2 separate regions of the Homo sapiens genome follow, and region 2 is linked to region 1. The links are contacts of gene promoters, found by promoter capture Hi-C in human tissues and cell types (Jung and others, 2019). All regions are on one chromosome and are shown on one strand. The core of a region is centred on a gene start or on the middle of the fragment in contact, and the rest is flanking DNA. Distances in the headings are between cores, read along the strand shown.

Evidence for each region. Contacts are between HindIII fragments. The study calls those that stand out against the background at their distance.
Region 2: a fragment that was not itself captured here is called in contact with the fragment with the promoter of COPS3 in region 1 in 1 of the 25 tissues and cell types used here (adrenal gland).

What each region holds. Positions count from the first base shown.
Region 1 is chr17:17,278,442-17,285,358 of GRCh38, forward strand. It overlaps COPS3 (COP9 signalosome subunit 3), which reads right to left and starts at 2,805. Exons shown (of 12, transcript NM_003653.4): 1 at 2,691-2,805. The coding sequence starts at 2,745. RefSeq lists enhancers at 2,193-2,252, 2,903-3,002 and a silencer at 2,443-2,682. The HindIII fragment of the contact is 6,625 bases long and covers 1-4,484 here.
Region 2 is chr17:17,113,857-17,120,773 of GRCh38, forward strand. All of the region lies in intron 3 of MPRIP (myosin phosphatase Rho interacting protein), which reads left to right. Among named protein-coding and RNA genes, the nearest start is that of MPRIP, 75 kb to the left of the region's middle. RefSeq lists an enhancer at 5,374-5,899. The HindIII fragment of the contact is 5,901 bases long and covers 258-6,158 here.

The sequences.
Region 1 (6,917 bases), core at 1,555-4,054:
GAAAGCAAAGGAAATGTATCATTATTATACATGCATTACAAAACAAGAATAAAACAGCTGTGATCTTATTAGGTGTCACCTCTTGAGATCACACAGATTTAACTGGGAAATACCAACTCATCATCATTGTATTACAGATCTCACTGGTAGGTATGAAGTAACTTCTAGTTGAATAATTTGCCTTTGTAAACCATTACTCTAAATATATTAACAATAATTTGTAACACCCAGAAATAAGCATTGCAATCCATTAGTTCTCTACTAGTTAACAATCAGTGCCCAGTTGAGACTGAAATAAAAGCTGGGTCACTATGAAATCACCAGATAATTAATTAGTGCAGGGCCAAGGGCAGAGTAAAAAAAAAAAGTTTAAGTGTCACAGAGTGCATTTGAAATCAGTGTAACCAGAGATGTGGCCAATAAAATTCTTTTTTTTCTTTTTTTTTTTTTTGAGACGGAGTCTTGCTCTGTCACCCAGACTGGAGGGCAGTGGCGCGATCTTGGCTCACTGCAAGCTCCACCTCCCAGGTTCATGCCATTCTCCTGCCTCAGCCTCCCGAGTAGCTGAGATTACAGGCGCCCGCCACCATGCCTGGCTAATTTTGCATTTTTAGTAGAGACAGGGTTTCACCATGTTGGCCAGGGTGGTCTTGAACTCCTGACCTCAGATGATCCGCCCGCCTCGGCCTCCCAAAGTGCTGGAATTACAGGAGTGAGCCACTGCGCCTGGCCTGAAACTCAAAGATTTCCTATCCAGTGAGTGTGAGGCACAGTAGCCGACAGCAATGAAAGTTACCATATTTATCTCTGTCTAGCAGACTGTTCCTATAGCATCCTATAACCTGAAGACCACAACAGCCCTAGTTCTGTTTTGTAATTAAGAAAATTGGCCCAGGGAAATTAAGTGGTTCACCCAAGAAGTGACCGCGACAGGATTTCAACCTGAAGCTTCTAACTACACTACACCCCAGGAAGGAGAACACTAAGTATTTGTCGAATAAATTAACAAACCAGTGGTTCCTTTATTCATAGAAAAGGCAAGCCTGTGCCTTCCCTGTGAACCTCATTTCTATTAATAAAAAGGAAAAAGAGGAAGAATTCTTATTAAGTGCAGCTCCATATCAGACCATTTGTCTTACACCAGTGAGGTAAAAGCACCCCTCCATTTTTACAATGGAGATGCAAAAGACTCAGAGATTAAAGGTTATTTGTCCAAGGTCAAGCAGCTCCTAGAACTTTGCAATTAATGACGGTAACAATAATTTGCAGCTATATTTATTGCACCCCTTATGACAGGCACTGTTCCAACTGCTTTTACATGGTTTCTCTCATTGAATCTTCACAACTCTACATAAACTAGGGACTTATTTTGCAGACGAAGAAACTGAAGCACGGGATAGTTAAAAGGGCCTTCACAGCCAGCATCTAATCATTCGAATTTCAGGTCCAGAATTCGGTACATTCATACGCAATGAATGAACCAAACAACCTGGAAAGTGCGAGTAAAATCATCACAATTCTACCCCTAGAAATGGAGTCCTGGCCGGGCGCAGTGGCTCACGCCTGTAATCCTAGCACTTTGGGAGGCCGAGGTGGGCGGATCACTTCAGGTGAGGAGTTCGAAACCAGCTTGGCCAACATGGTAAAAACCCCATCTCTATTAAAAATACGAAAAAATTAGCCGCGTGGGCTGGCCGCGGTGGCTCATGCCTGTAATCCCAGCACTTTGGGAGGCCGAGGCCAGTGGATCACCTGAGATCAAGGTTCGAGACCAGCCAGGCCAACATGGTGAAACCCTGTCTCTACTAAAAATACAAAAATTAGCCGGGCAGGCGCCTGTAATCCCAGCTACTCGGGAGGCTGAGACAGGAGAATCGCTTGAACCTCGAAGGCGAAGGTTGAGGTGAGCCGAGACCGCGCCACTGCACTCCAGCCTGGGAGACAGTGAGACTCCGTCTCAAAAAAAAAAAAAGCCGTGTGAGCTGGCGGGCGCCTGTAATCTCAGCTACTCGGGAGGCTGAGACAGGAGAATCGCTTGAAGCCGGGAGGCTGAGGTTGCAGTGAGCCGAGATCGCGCCACTGCACTCCAGCCTCGGCTAAAAAAAAACAAAGAAGAAGAAATGGAGTCCTACGAGCGAGAGCTTCCGCAGCATTCTGTAGGACCAAAATAGGCGCACAGGTTCCCGAGCGTGCGCCGCCTGGCAGCGGAGGAGCTGGCAGAGGCGAGCCATAGAGCCAAGACACCCAGAACGGACTCGCCTCCCGCCCGCTCCCGGCGGCCTAGTCAGCAAGCTGCGGATCGGCGGCAAAGATGACATGGCGGTGCGCCAATCACCGAAGGCAAGAGAGACAGAAGGAACCAATAGTCGCCCGAGATGGCTCCTGGCGGAAGTCACGCCCCCAAACTGTCAAGCAAAGCGCCCGGTGGAAGGGGCCCAGGCCGGGGGGAGGGGGCTCCCGGCGGCCCGAGGGAGGGGAGGCCGGCCGGCGAGGACAGCGGAGCGCGAGGGGGCTGCCTACACTCGGCCGCGCTCGATCCTGCCCTGATCTAAACGCCGCAACCCCAAGCCCGGCCCCGGAGAAGAGTCTCAGGACTAAAAGGGCTGTTCCAGCCGTCCGTGCTGGCGCCTGGGGATCCAGGCCAGTTCCCGGTACCCGCCCATGCCCAGCCCGGCGGCCTAGGGCGTTACCTTGAGCTGAGAGCTGTCGGACACTGTTCACGAACTGCTCCAGGGCAGACGCCATGTTTTCCCCCGGGCGGCCCGAGCGGCGAAGGCAGCACGCGCGGGAAAAGGCTGCCGCTCTGGGAGGAGGGGCCGCGGCGATCCACCTGAGGTCCTCGCGAGCGGCGACGTCACTTCCGCTGGTTCAAGCACCGCGAGACTATACCTAGCTGCCCACCCGTTACTGTTTCCATGGAAACAGCCTGAATTCGCCGTAGCCGGAAATTAGTGTTCCATAGTCCCCTGCATCTTTATTCACTGCACTTCTGAAATCCCTCCGCAGGTTAAATGGGGATAGTGGGCAAAAGAAGGAAGGAAACTCATAATTAAGCAAGTATTTTCTGGTTCTGGATTTTGCTAGAGAGGCCCTGCGGTTTTCCACCTGGACAGATACTTCAATGAAGCACAACTTCGTTGCCACGTCTCCCGTGAGGTTTTCCCCGTGATATTAGACTCTGGAGCCAAGCAGCCTGGGTTCAACTGCCTTTTCTACCACTTAGTAGCTGTGTGACGTTGAGCGGGTCACTTGACTGTCGTGTGCATTGTTTTCCCCATCTGTAAAATCTTAGTGTCCTTAACCACGTAAAACACTTAGGACAGTGCATAGGACGTAGGGAGAACTATAGTTATTCATTCAAGGTGTACGTTGAATGAATCGATCCCTTCCCTGCAAAAAATAAATAAATAAGTAACACCACACACAGAAAGTGAATTGATTTTTCCCATCTGGGATTGATGTCTCCCTCCTCCGCTTGTCGCCTAAAGCACTTTGTTCTTCTCATGTTGCACTTCTACTCTGTTACAGAAATGTGTCTCTATAGTCCATGTGATATCTGTAAACCAAAAATAAAAGTCTAAGCCCCCCAACTGACTGGTGGACCCTATCTGAAGCCAAGGACATTCCAATTTATCCTGAAAAACTAGTTCAGGCCATGATGGGAAGTGGTAGTCAGACATGCCTCACAAACATCAACACAGAGACCTTAAGACTGGTAGACTCAAGACTGATAAGAAATATTTACAATCTATTCTGTCTGAATAGCAGGCTACCTGGAAGCCTCATCTGCATGATAAAACCTTGGTCTCCACAACCCCTTATAATCATAACCCAGATATTTCTTTCTATTTACTTCCAGGTCTTTAGATAATAACTCTTTCAACCAATTACCAATCAAAAAATCTTTAAGTCTACCTATAAGGTAGAAGCCCCCCACTGCCCCGAGTTAGCCCGTCTTTCCGATCCTAACCAACGTACATCTTACATGTATTGATCGATGACTCATGTCTCCCTAAAATGTATAAAACCAAACTGTACCCGCACCTTGGGCACATGTCCTGAGGAGCTCCTGAGGCCGTGTTATCATCGCATCCTTCACCTTGGCAATATAAACTTTCTCGATTGAGACTGGTCTCAGATACTTTTGGTTTACGGATCCATTGCTTCTAACTGGCATGGAGTTCCTTAAGGTCAAGCATTTCTCTTACTAACCTTGGTTCCCCTTTAGGGCCCAGCATAGGATTTGCTGCATAGTAGGGACTGAGAAAATAAACATGCATTTTAAAATTTTATCCAACATATGTTTACTGACACTTACAATGTGTTGTACCAGGCACTAGAAATACAGTGGTAGTAAAAACAGTCTTGGGGCCTGGTGCAGTCTCTCACGCTTGTAATCCAGCACTTTGGGAGACTGAAGCAAGTGGATCACTTGAGGTCAGGGGTTGGACACCAGCCTGGCCAACATGGTGAAAAGCCATCTCTACTAAAAATACTACAAAAATTAGCTGGGCTTGGTGATGGGTACCTGTAGTCCCAACTACTCGGGAGGCTGAGATGGGAAAACCTCTTGAACCCGGGAAGTGGAGGTTGCAGTGAGCCGAGATGGCACCACTGCACTCCAGCATGGGCGACAGAGCAAGAATCTGACTCAAACAAAACAAAACAAAACAAAACAGTTTCGGTCCTTCTCTCCTGCAGACAACACATGAAGACCCTAGATAAAAGGAGTTAGTGGTCTGAAGGAATGGAACATGGTTCTATAAAATCATGTCACAGAGGAGATTGACCTGGCTTGGGAGAAACAGGGAAGGCTTTCTTGAGGAAATGGCATAAACTGAGCAACGAAGAAAGAGGAAGAGTTAATAAGATAAGGGGGAAGGAATATTTCTGAGTGAGAGGACAGTATGGTGCTAAGACCCTGCAAGTGAAAGGAGCATGCTAGTTGAGAATGAAGAACTGAAAGAATGTCCTTGTGGTTGGAGGGGAGTAGTTTGTAAGGTGGACAGGGGCCAGGTCATGTAAGCTGTGTTAAAGGTACTGGACTTTTTCCTGAGAAGATTGGGAGGACTGGAGAGTTTTATGCAAGCGGTGGCAGGATCAAATTTGCGTTTTAGGACCGGGCGTGGTGGCTCACGCCTGTAATCCCAGCACTTTGAGAGGCTGAGGTGGGTGGATCACGAGGTCAGGAGTTCAAGAGCAGCCTGGCCAGAAAGATGAAATCCTGTCTCTAGTAAAAATACAAAAAATAGCCGGGTGTGGTGGCGTGTGCTTGTAATCCCAGCTACTCAGGAGCTGAGGCAGGAGAATCGCTTGAACCAGGGAGGTGGAGGTTGCAGTGAGCTGAGATCAGGCCACTGCACTCCAGACTGGACAATAAAAAGAGACTCAACTTCAAAAAACAAAACAACAACAACAAAAATTGCATTTTAAAAAGATTTGTCTGGCTTCACATGGATAACTTGGGAGACAGGAAGCTATTGCAATAGTCAACATAAAATAGAATAGTAATAATTATACTTTAAATAATTATACCTTGAATGCTAATAGTTTTACTCTTACCAGGAGTTCGAGACCAGCCTAGACAACACAGCGTGACTTTGTCTCTACAAAAAAAATTTTAAAAACTAGCTGGTTGTGGTGGTGCATGCCTATTGTCTCAGCTACTCTGGAGGCAGAGGTGGGAGGACCACTTAAGCCCAGGAATTTAAGGCTGCAATGAGCTATGATCTCGCCACTGCACCCCAGCCTGGGTGACAGAGTAAGACCCTGTTTCTTTCAAATAAATAGTAATAATAATAGTTCTTTCGAAAGTGTAGATAAATTCACCAGGATAAATTGGTGAACTTGAGACATGTTTAGATGAATGACTGTAGCACTTGTACTCTAAGATGGAAATGCTCCTGAATGTTCTATGGAAGCAATTGGTCCTTAATCTTTGATCATTTGCAACACACAAGACAGACATTTTGACTTATGGGACACATTTCCATGGATATACATGGATTTTGGTGAAAGCCAAAAATGTTGAAGATAAGTAAAGCACTACAATAATTCAAAGTAGCCACAGCTACTAATAATACTTTGATTGTTTATTTATTATTGCCTATTTAGGTTGTGGCAGCTGCTCTCAAACTGTGACTCCACCAATCAGCAGCGTCAGCGTCATTTGGGATCTTCTTGGAAATGCACATTCTTGGACCCCACTGTAGACTTCCTATATCAAGAGCTCTGAAACTGGGCACGGACCCTCACGCCTATATAAAAATTAGCCAGGCGGTAGTGGTGCACACCTGTAATCCCAGCTACTTGGGAGTCTGAGGCAGGAGAATCGCTTGAGCCTGGGAGGTGGGGGTTGTGGTGAGCTGAAATCATGCCACTGCGCTCCAGTCTCGGTGAGAGAGTGAGACCCTGTCTCGAAAAAAAAAAAACGGTGATTTCCAGAAATCTGAGCTTAACAAGCCTGCAGGTAATTCTGATGGTGCTAAATTCTGAGAGCATCTGGACCGTGGCCTCCAGATGAGCCAGCATGCAAATAACATTTCAAAACAGCTAAAAGCTAAATTCAAAACAGCTAAATTCCACCCTTCTCTTTCCTCTCAAAAACAAATGACTGAAAGAGACGTGATTATAGGGATAAACCTGAATATATTCTAACTTGTTTTTTTTTTTTTTTTTTTTTTTTTTGAGACGGAGTCTCACTCTTTCGCCCAGGCTGGACTGCAGTGGCGCTATCTTGGCTCACTGCAAGCTCTGCCTCCCGGGTTCACGCCATCCTGCTGCCTCAGCCTCCCAAGTAGCTGGGACTACAGGCGCCTGCCACCACACTCGACTAATTTTTTGTATTTTTATTAGAGACGGGGTTTCACCGTGTTAGCCAGGATGGTCTCGATCTCCTGACCTCATGATCTGCCTGC
Region 2 (6,917 bases), core at 1,958-4,457, 160 kb before region 1:
TGATTTGCATTTTCTTTTCTTTTCTTTTCTTTTTTTTTTTTTTTTTTTACTTAAGAGACAGGGTCTCACTCTGTTGCCCAGACTGGAGTGCAGTGGTGCCATCACAGCTCACTGCAACCTCGAACTCCTGGGCTCAAGGGATCCTCCCTGCTCCCAAGTAACTGGGACTATAAGAGTACACCACCACATCTGGCTATTTATTTTTTAATTTTTATTTTTAGAGATGAGGTCTCACTATCTTGCCCAGGTTGGTCTCAAACTTCTGGCCCCAAGCAATCCTCCTGCTTTGGCCTTCTGAAGTGCTAGGTGACTTTCATTTTCTAATGACTAATGACGTCAGGCACCTTTTTATGTGTGTCTTGGCCATTTGTATATCTTCTTTGTATATTCACATCCTTTGTCTATTTTTAATTGTTTTTTGTTGTTGAGTTTTAGGAGCTGTTTATTCTAGATACTAATACTTTGTCAGATATATGATTTGCAAGTATTCCCTTCCCTTCCCTAGGTTGCCTTTTCGCTCTCTTGGTCCTTAGATGTACAAAGGTTTTTAATTTTGATGAAGTCTAGTTTATCTTTTTTTTTTCTTTTGTTGCTTGTGCTTTTGGCGTCATATCCAAGAAATGGTTGCTAAATCCAGTGTTACAGGGCTTTTTTCCTTGGTCTTCTGTGCATTTTATAGCCTTTGTTCTTGCATTGAGGTATCTGCTCCATTTCAAGTTCATTGTTGCATATGGTGTAGTGTCACCCTTGGTTGGTGGATCCTGCTAGCTGACCATTGTGGTGGGTGAGGGGGATGAAAAGCTGTTCTTCCCCAGTTCCCATGCCTCTCCTACCTTCTTCCCATCTACCCCCCGCCCACCCACCACCAGTTTTAGGAGGAAGGTGGGCCTTAACTGGGTGAGGGCTCCCAAGGGAAGCTCCTCTGGCAGAGGGCCCTTGGCCATTTGGCGGGGGCCCTGGTATCTCGCTGCCCAGGCAGCGGCCGAAGCCAGCAGGCCAGCCTGGCGTAGCAGGTGTGAGGAGGAACTTCCTGGTCTTGGCAGCAAGTGAAAAAGGTCCTTGTTTTCTTATTTTCTCCGTTAAAAAAAAAGTAGTTTAGTGGTTCTAACTATGCCCCTGGGAAAGCCCTGAACGGGTCATTTCCTCAGCATCCCACAAAGTCACTTGTAGCAGAAGGCCCAGCCCACGCACTGCAGCACCAAGGCTGGGGCGAGGCCCACACTGCATTGTTGCTGCTGGCATTAGCAGATGCTGCACATCTTGGAGGCCCCCTCCTGCTAATCCACGAATGCCTCAGAAAGCATGCACTGTCTCTGGGGCCAGAGCTGAATCTTAGAAGAGGGCCTACTTGGGATGGGAGCGGTAGCTCTGCGTCTGTGGTGACACCCACTGTCACATTCCAGTAGAGGGAAGGAAAGGTAGGGCCTCGGGATTTTGGCCCTGACTGCATGGTTCCTGCTTCTTCTGTGATGGAGGCGGCATGCTGTGGTGGGCTAGGAGTTAGGAAGCCTGGGCCTGAGTTTCCACGTCCAGACGTTAGGGAGAGGTGGGGTGTAGAGGGCCTTCCAGGCCTGGGTTGGCAGGGAGGCGAGCTCTTTCTCGTGATGGAGCCATGAAGGCCTGTTGGAAGGCCTGGCCTGCTTGCTGCTGAGCCTGTGGTTTCTCCCTGTTATCTGTGCAGTGTTCTGTTTTGTTTTGTTTGAAGTGTACAGGTCATTGTCTTTGAGGATATTCACGTGGTTATACAACCACCAACACAATCTAATTTCAGAGCATTTTTCATCAACCCCCAAACAAACCCTGCATCCCTTAGCTGCCACCGCCACTCCTCCCCTCCTGCTTCCCATCTTTATCGATTGGCCTGTCCTGGACGCTTGATGTAAATGGAGTCATGCAGCATCATCTCACAACTTTACCATCTGCTGGTTGCAGCAGAGTCATTGGCCCAAGGCTGGGGTGGTGGCTTCAGACCAACACCATGGACTTGGTGGCCTAGGTGCTGATCATGCAAAGGCCATTCCTCAGGGGCCTGCATCTCTTTCCAGACAGCTTCTCTACCTCATGCCCTGCAGAGCCTGCCACTGTCTGGTCTTTGCACACGTGTCATCCTGTTAACCCTTAATGAATATGGGATTTTGGTTAAAATGATGGTTTCTATTTTATAAATAAAACGTATCTATTACATATATAAGTAAATCAAATATTTATATTATAATTAAATCTATAATATAAATCTAGCAGGGTTGGCTTGTTCCATCATTCAGAAATGTTTACTGAAGCACATATTGGAAGGTGCTGACCTAGGTGTATAGAGTAAATACAAGGAGTTTTATCAGGCACCTTGTGGCTTAGTATGCAGAGCAGTTGGGCAGACCTGTGGATGGGCCATGGCCTCTGCACAGGGGCTCCCTTCAGGGAGCACAGGACAATGATCCAGGAGGGGAGATGTGCCAGGCAGGCCTCTCCGGCAGGACAGTGATAAAGGAGGCTGCTCTGTGCAGCGGGTAACCGTGGGTCTCCCAGGCCAGCAAGTAGGTCCAGGAGGCAAGGTGGGGCAATTGGTGCAGGGAGCAGAGCTTGGGCTGGGAGCTGTTGGAGCAGTTGAGTTGTGGGTTGGCTTGGCCGGATCTATGTTCATGAAGAATGGTTCTGGGGCTGTTCCTGTTGAATCATTCTGAGGCTCCCAGCACTGCTGTGCCTAGGAGGGTAGAACCCATGGGCCTCTTCACTGTGTACCAGGTGTTCCCAGCTGGCCTCATCTAGCCAAGCCTCCCACGGAACTCCCAGAATCACAGGTCTGAGGCCTCCGTCCTGCCAGTCCCCAGTCTGTATTGGTGGGCAGTGGGAAAGGGCCTGCCCCGCATGCATCTGCAGCTGGGGAGAGGGGTCAGAAATGTTTTGCAGGTAGTGTCTGGGGCCAGGTGCTGTCAGCCTGGGGCTCAGCAGAGGGGCAGACCCTGCTCTCCCCTGGAATGTGGCCTGGGAAACCAGCCTCTGGTGCTCCCCAGGGCCCCAAGGCAAGGGCCAGAGAGGCACAGGGAGAATCTGCACGGTACTCAGCTGCCTTTGGATTGACCCTTCGGCTTGGTCCATTGTTTTCAAGAGCCCTTATCAGCCATCTTAGCACAAGTAGATGGCCATGGTCTCTGAGTAGAGGATGTGCCCCCTCCCCTTGCAGAAGACGGTGGCCCATGATGCCCAGAGCTCCTCAGTCCACTGAGCCCTGCCTCTCTGCCACAGGGTAGAAGACGGAACATGCCCGACACTGTCCTCCCTCCTTCCCAAACATTCGAGGAAAGTTGTTGAACCCATCGTCTTCTGACCACCACCCTTGCTTGGTAGGAGAGTGGTGATGTGCACTGAGAAGCAGCAGGCGGCACGGGTGTGCCATCCCGAGCCTGAGCTCGAGTCCCGCTTCAGCTGTGCAGTATCGTTTGTAGTCTTGTGACAGAAGGGGGTAGATTATCACCCCAAAGGGAAATCTCTAGGCCAAAACATTAGGCCACTTCTCATTCCCCTCCCCTAGCCCCTGGCAACCACTCCTCTGCTTTTTCTCTATGGGTTGGCCTTTTCTGAACATTTCACCAAGATGGAGTCACACAGTGTGTGTCCTTTTGTGACTGGCTTCATTCACTTAGCGTGATGTTTCCAAGGTTTGCTCATGTTGGAGCATGTGTCAGGATTTCATTCTTTTTATGGCTGAATAAAATAATATTCCATTGTATGAATATTGCATTTTGTCTATCCATTTGTCCACTGATGGACATTTGGGCTGTTTCCACCTTTTGGCTATCGCGAATTATGCTGCTACGATATGATTTGTGTATATGTTCGAGTACCTGTCTTCTGTTCTTTTGGGTATATATCCAGTAATCAACTTGTTGGGTCATATGGAAACTGTCTGTAATTTTTTGAGGAACTGCTAAAGTTTTCCACAATAGCTACACCACTTTACAATCAAAACGAGGCCTATATTTACTACCATTTTACATTAGGGAAACTGAGGCTCACAATTTGCGACTTGCCCAGAATCACAGAGCTAGTGAGTGCAGAGCTAGGACTTGACTCCAAGGGTAGGCTCTTCTTGGCTAGAGAGCTCTGAAAACAGATTGCTTAGAGTCTACCTTAGATCTCAGAACTTCTGCAGAGGGAAACAGCTGGGAGAGCAGTGGTTTGTGGCTCCAGCTCTTCCTCCTGTCCTGGGCTGATGGAAGCCCCATGAGCTGGTCTCCCTGGCCTGTGCTGTAGGTCCAGCCTAGGTAGCCCTGGCTGGCCAAAGCTGCCTAAGGTCCTGGGAGTCTCACGGGGGCTGTGTGGCTAGCCCAGGTCATGGGGTGGTCTCCCGGCCCTTCTTTCTGCAGCCAAACTACTTCTAGGAGCCTGATCTAACAAATCACAAGCCTCTCTTTTGAGGATGTGCTGGGGACCACCCCAAAAGCCATCGGGTGTAGAATGGGCATCCAACTCTTGGCCCAAAGTCCCTCTGGGGTTGCAGGACCCTCTCTGGGGTCTGCCAGGTTGTAGCATGCAGGTTTCATGTGGGACACCTGAAGGGTGGGGAAGAGTGCAGAATCATGGCTCCCTTCCCAAGGAGGTGATAGGACCTGGAATCAGACCTGACACCTGAGGACAGGCATTGGGATGAGGGCTCAGCCCAGCCTAGGGGCTGTTCCATGCAGCTTCAGGAGGCTACAGTGTGGAGGATGATTGTGGAACTGCCCTTTGAACCATGAGGACTGTGGAGTACACCAGGACTGGCGGTGACGACTGGGAAGGGGGAAGGGAGTTCTGCCTGGTGGGTACCTGCTAGGCCCATTGTCAGTCCCTAGGCGTGGTTGGCCTAACACTTCTCTGAGTTGTGGCACAGAGGCCAGGCAGAGGCTTTGCTTACTCTGGGCCTGCATGGGATCATGACCCCTTTTCTGCGGCTCTTTCCAGTTTCCTCAGAGGACTTGGGCTTTGGGGATATCTGTCTGTGGAGAGTGCTGCTCCCTGGGGAGGTCTGCAGCCCCAGAGGGACTTTGGGCCAAGAGTTAAGTGCCCTTTCTACACTTGATGGCCTTTGGGGTAGTCACCAGCACCTCCTCAAAAGAGAGGGGCTTGTGATTTGTTAGATCGGGCTCCTAGAAGCAGTTTGGCTGCAGCAAGAAGAGCCGGGAGACCACCTTTGACCTGAGCCAGCCACACAGCCCCCATGAGCCCTGCTCCTGTGTTGTGCCTCCCAGGATGTGGGTTCCAGGGGCGCCTAGGAACTCAGCTGGTGCTCCCCAAGGGCTGTGTTCCTTCCTGAGAAAACTCTGGAGCCAATGTCCTGAATTCCAAAGAAAGGAAGGACCTCTCCTTAGACCTGGCTCGAGCAGCCAGACCATGTCTGCAGCACAGCCCACCAGCCCAAGGGAGGAGGGAGGTGGTGTTCCTGCCTGGGCGCTGCCTAATCAGGCCATAGCTCAGTGAAGTGCCAGGCTGAAGGCAGGGGCCGTGCTGGGCAAGTCTCCACGTGGTCCAGGCTGGGTAGCCCTGCCTACAGTTTCTCTGATAAACTTAGGCATGACCTTGTGCAAACAATTGTTAAGTCCAGGGAGGAAAGATGCCAAGGAGAGAGGGGCAAGGGTGCCAGTCAGAGAGGACCACACTTGTTCTGGGTGGCCCACAGAGTGCCACGTCCCATAATCACTTGGAGCCCCAGCTTGTACATTTGAAAGTCAGAACAATGATGTGCCTGCCTCCTGAAGCTGTCATCAGTACCTGTAGCTACTCAGGGCCTGGCCACAGTGAGCACCCAGGAAGTGGTGAATACACTTCCTGCTTCTACTGCAAGGCAATTCCCTGTGTCCTCCCTAGAACGTGCCGAGCTGCCTGTCCCTGCCAGAGTGCAGATGAGCAAGGCGACCGCTCAGCCCCAAAGTTTGCAGACAAAGCTTTTCATACTCCTTAAGTGGGTCACAGTGCATATGAAAAAATAATAAATACAGTGCACATGGTAGAAATACTGACTCACCGTTTTCCATTTCATGTGCATGTGTGCACTTGTGTGTGTGCTCATCATGGTGTGAATGTGGTGTTCCATGTGGGCCTTGGTTGGATGAGTTTGTGAAACATGCTGTCTCAGGACCTCAGGTGTGGGGGGAAGTCAGGTTTCACCTTGAAATCCCCTTTCTGACCTTGAGATTTTGGGAGTAATTCTTTGCCCTAGGGGAAAGCCTTTGTTTCTTGGGTCTCTGTTTTCTGGTCTGAATGAGGGATTGGGGGATAAAGGGAAGACTCCCACCCAGGTCTCACGTGCGACTGGTTCTGTAACAGCAGCTGCCTGGAAGGAAGGTCCTCCTGATGATAACGCCAAACAGCCTCTCACCATATTTCTGCTTACTTTCCTCTTGTTTCCCTCTGGCTCTTAGAAGCTTGCCTTCCCACACTCATGGGGTCAACAAGAAACAAAGGCCTGTTTTCCCAAAAGTGCTTCTGCTTGGGCCAGGGGTGTGGTGGAGAGTCCCCGGTTGGAGAGGCTGCTATAGCAGTATTATCCTAACCCAGGAAGGTCACTCTGGCCTCTGACAAGATGCCCTGGCTGCAGTGCACAGAGCTTCCAGCCTCCCATGGGCCTGTGGACAGAGGACCGGCAGGAGGAGCAGGGTGTGCTCATCTCTTTGGAGAGAAGCCTGAGTCCTGTGTCCTCCTGCCTAAACAATCTGCAGCCTGTAGCAACTCTGCCCCTTAGCTGGGGTAGGGTGGAGCCCAGAAGAGGACCAGAGGCTCCAGATAGCTGGAGGGCTATGTGGGGGCTGAACCCATAACTTGGTGACATAGCAGAGTCGATGGCCTACAGAGGGCCGTCTCTTTTTTTGGAAAATGAATCAAACAAAACTAGGTGAAGCTCAGCCTCCTAGGAAACCTGGATTCCTGACCTCTGGAGGTATAGA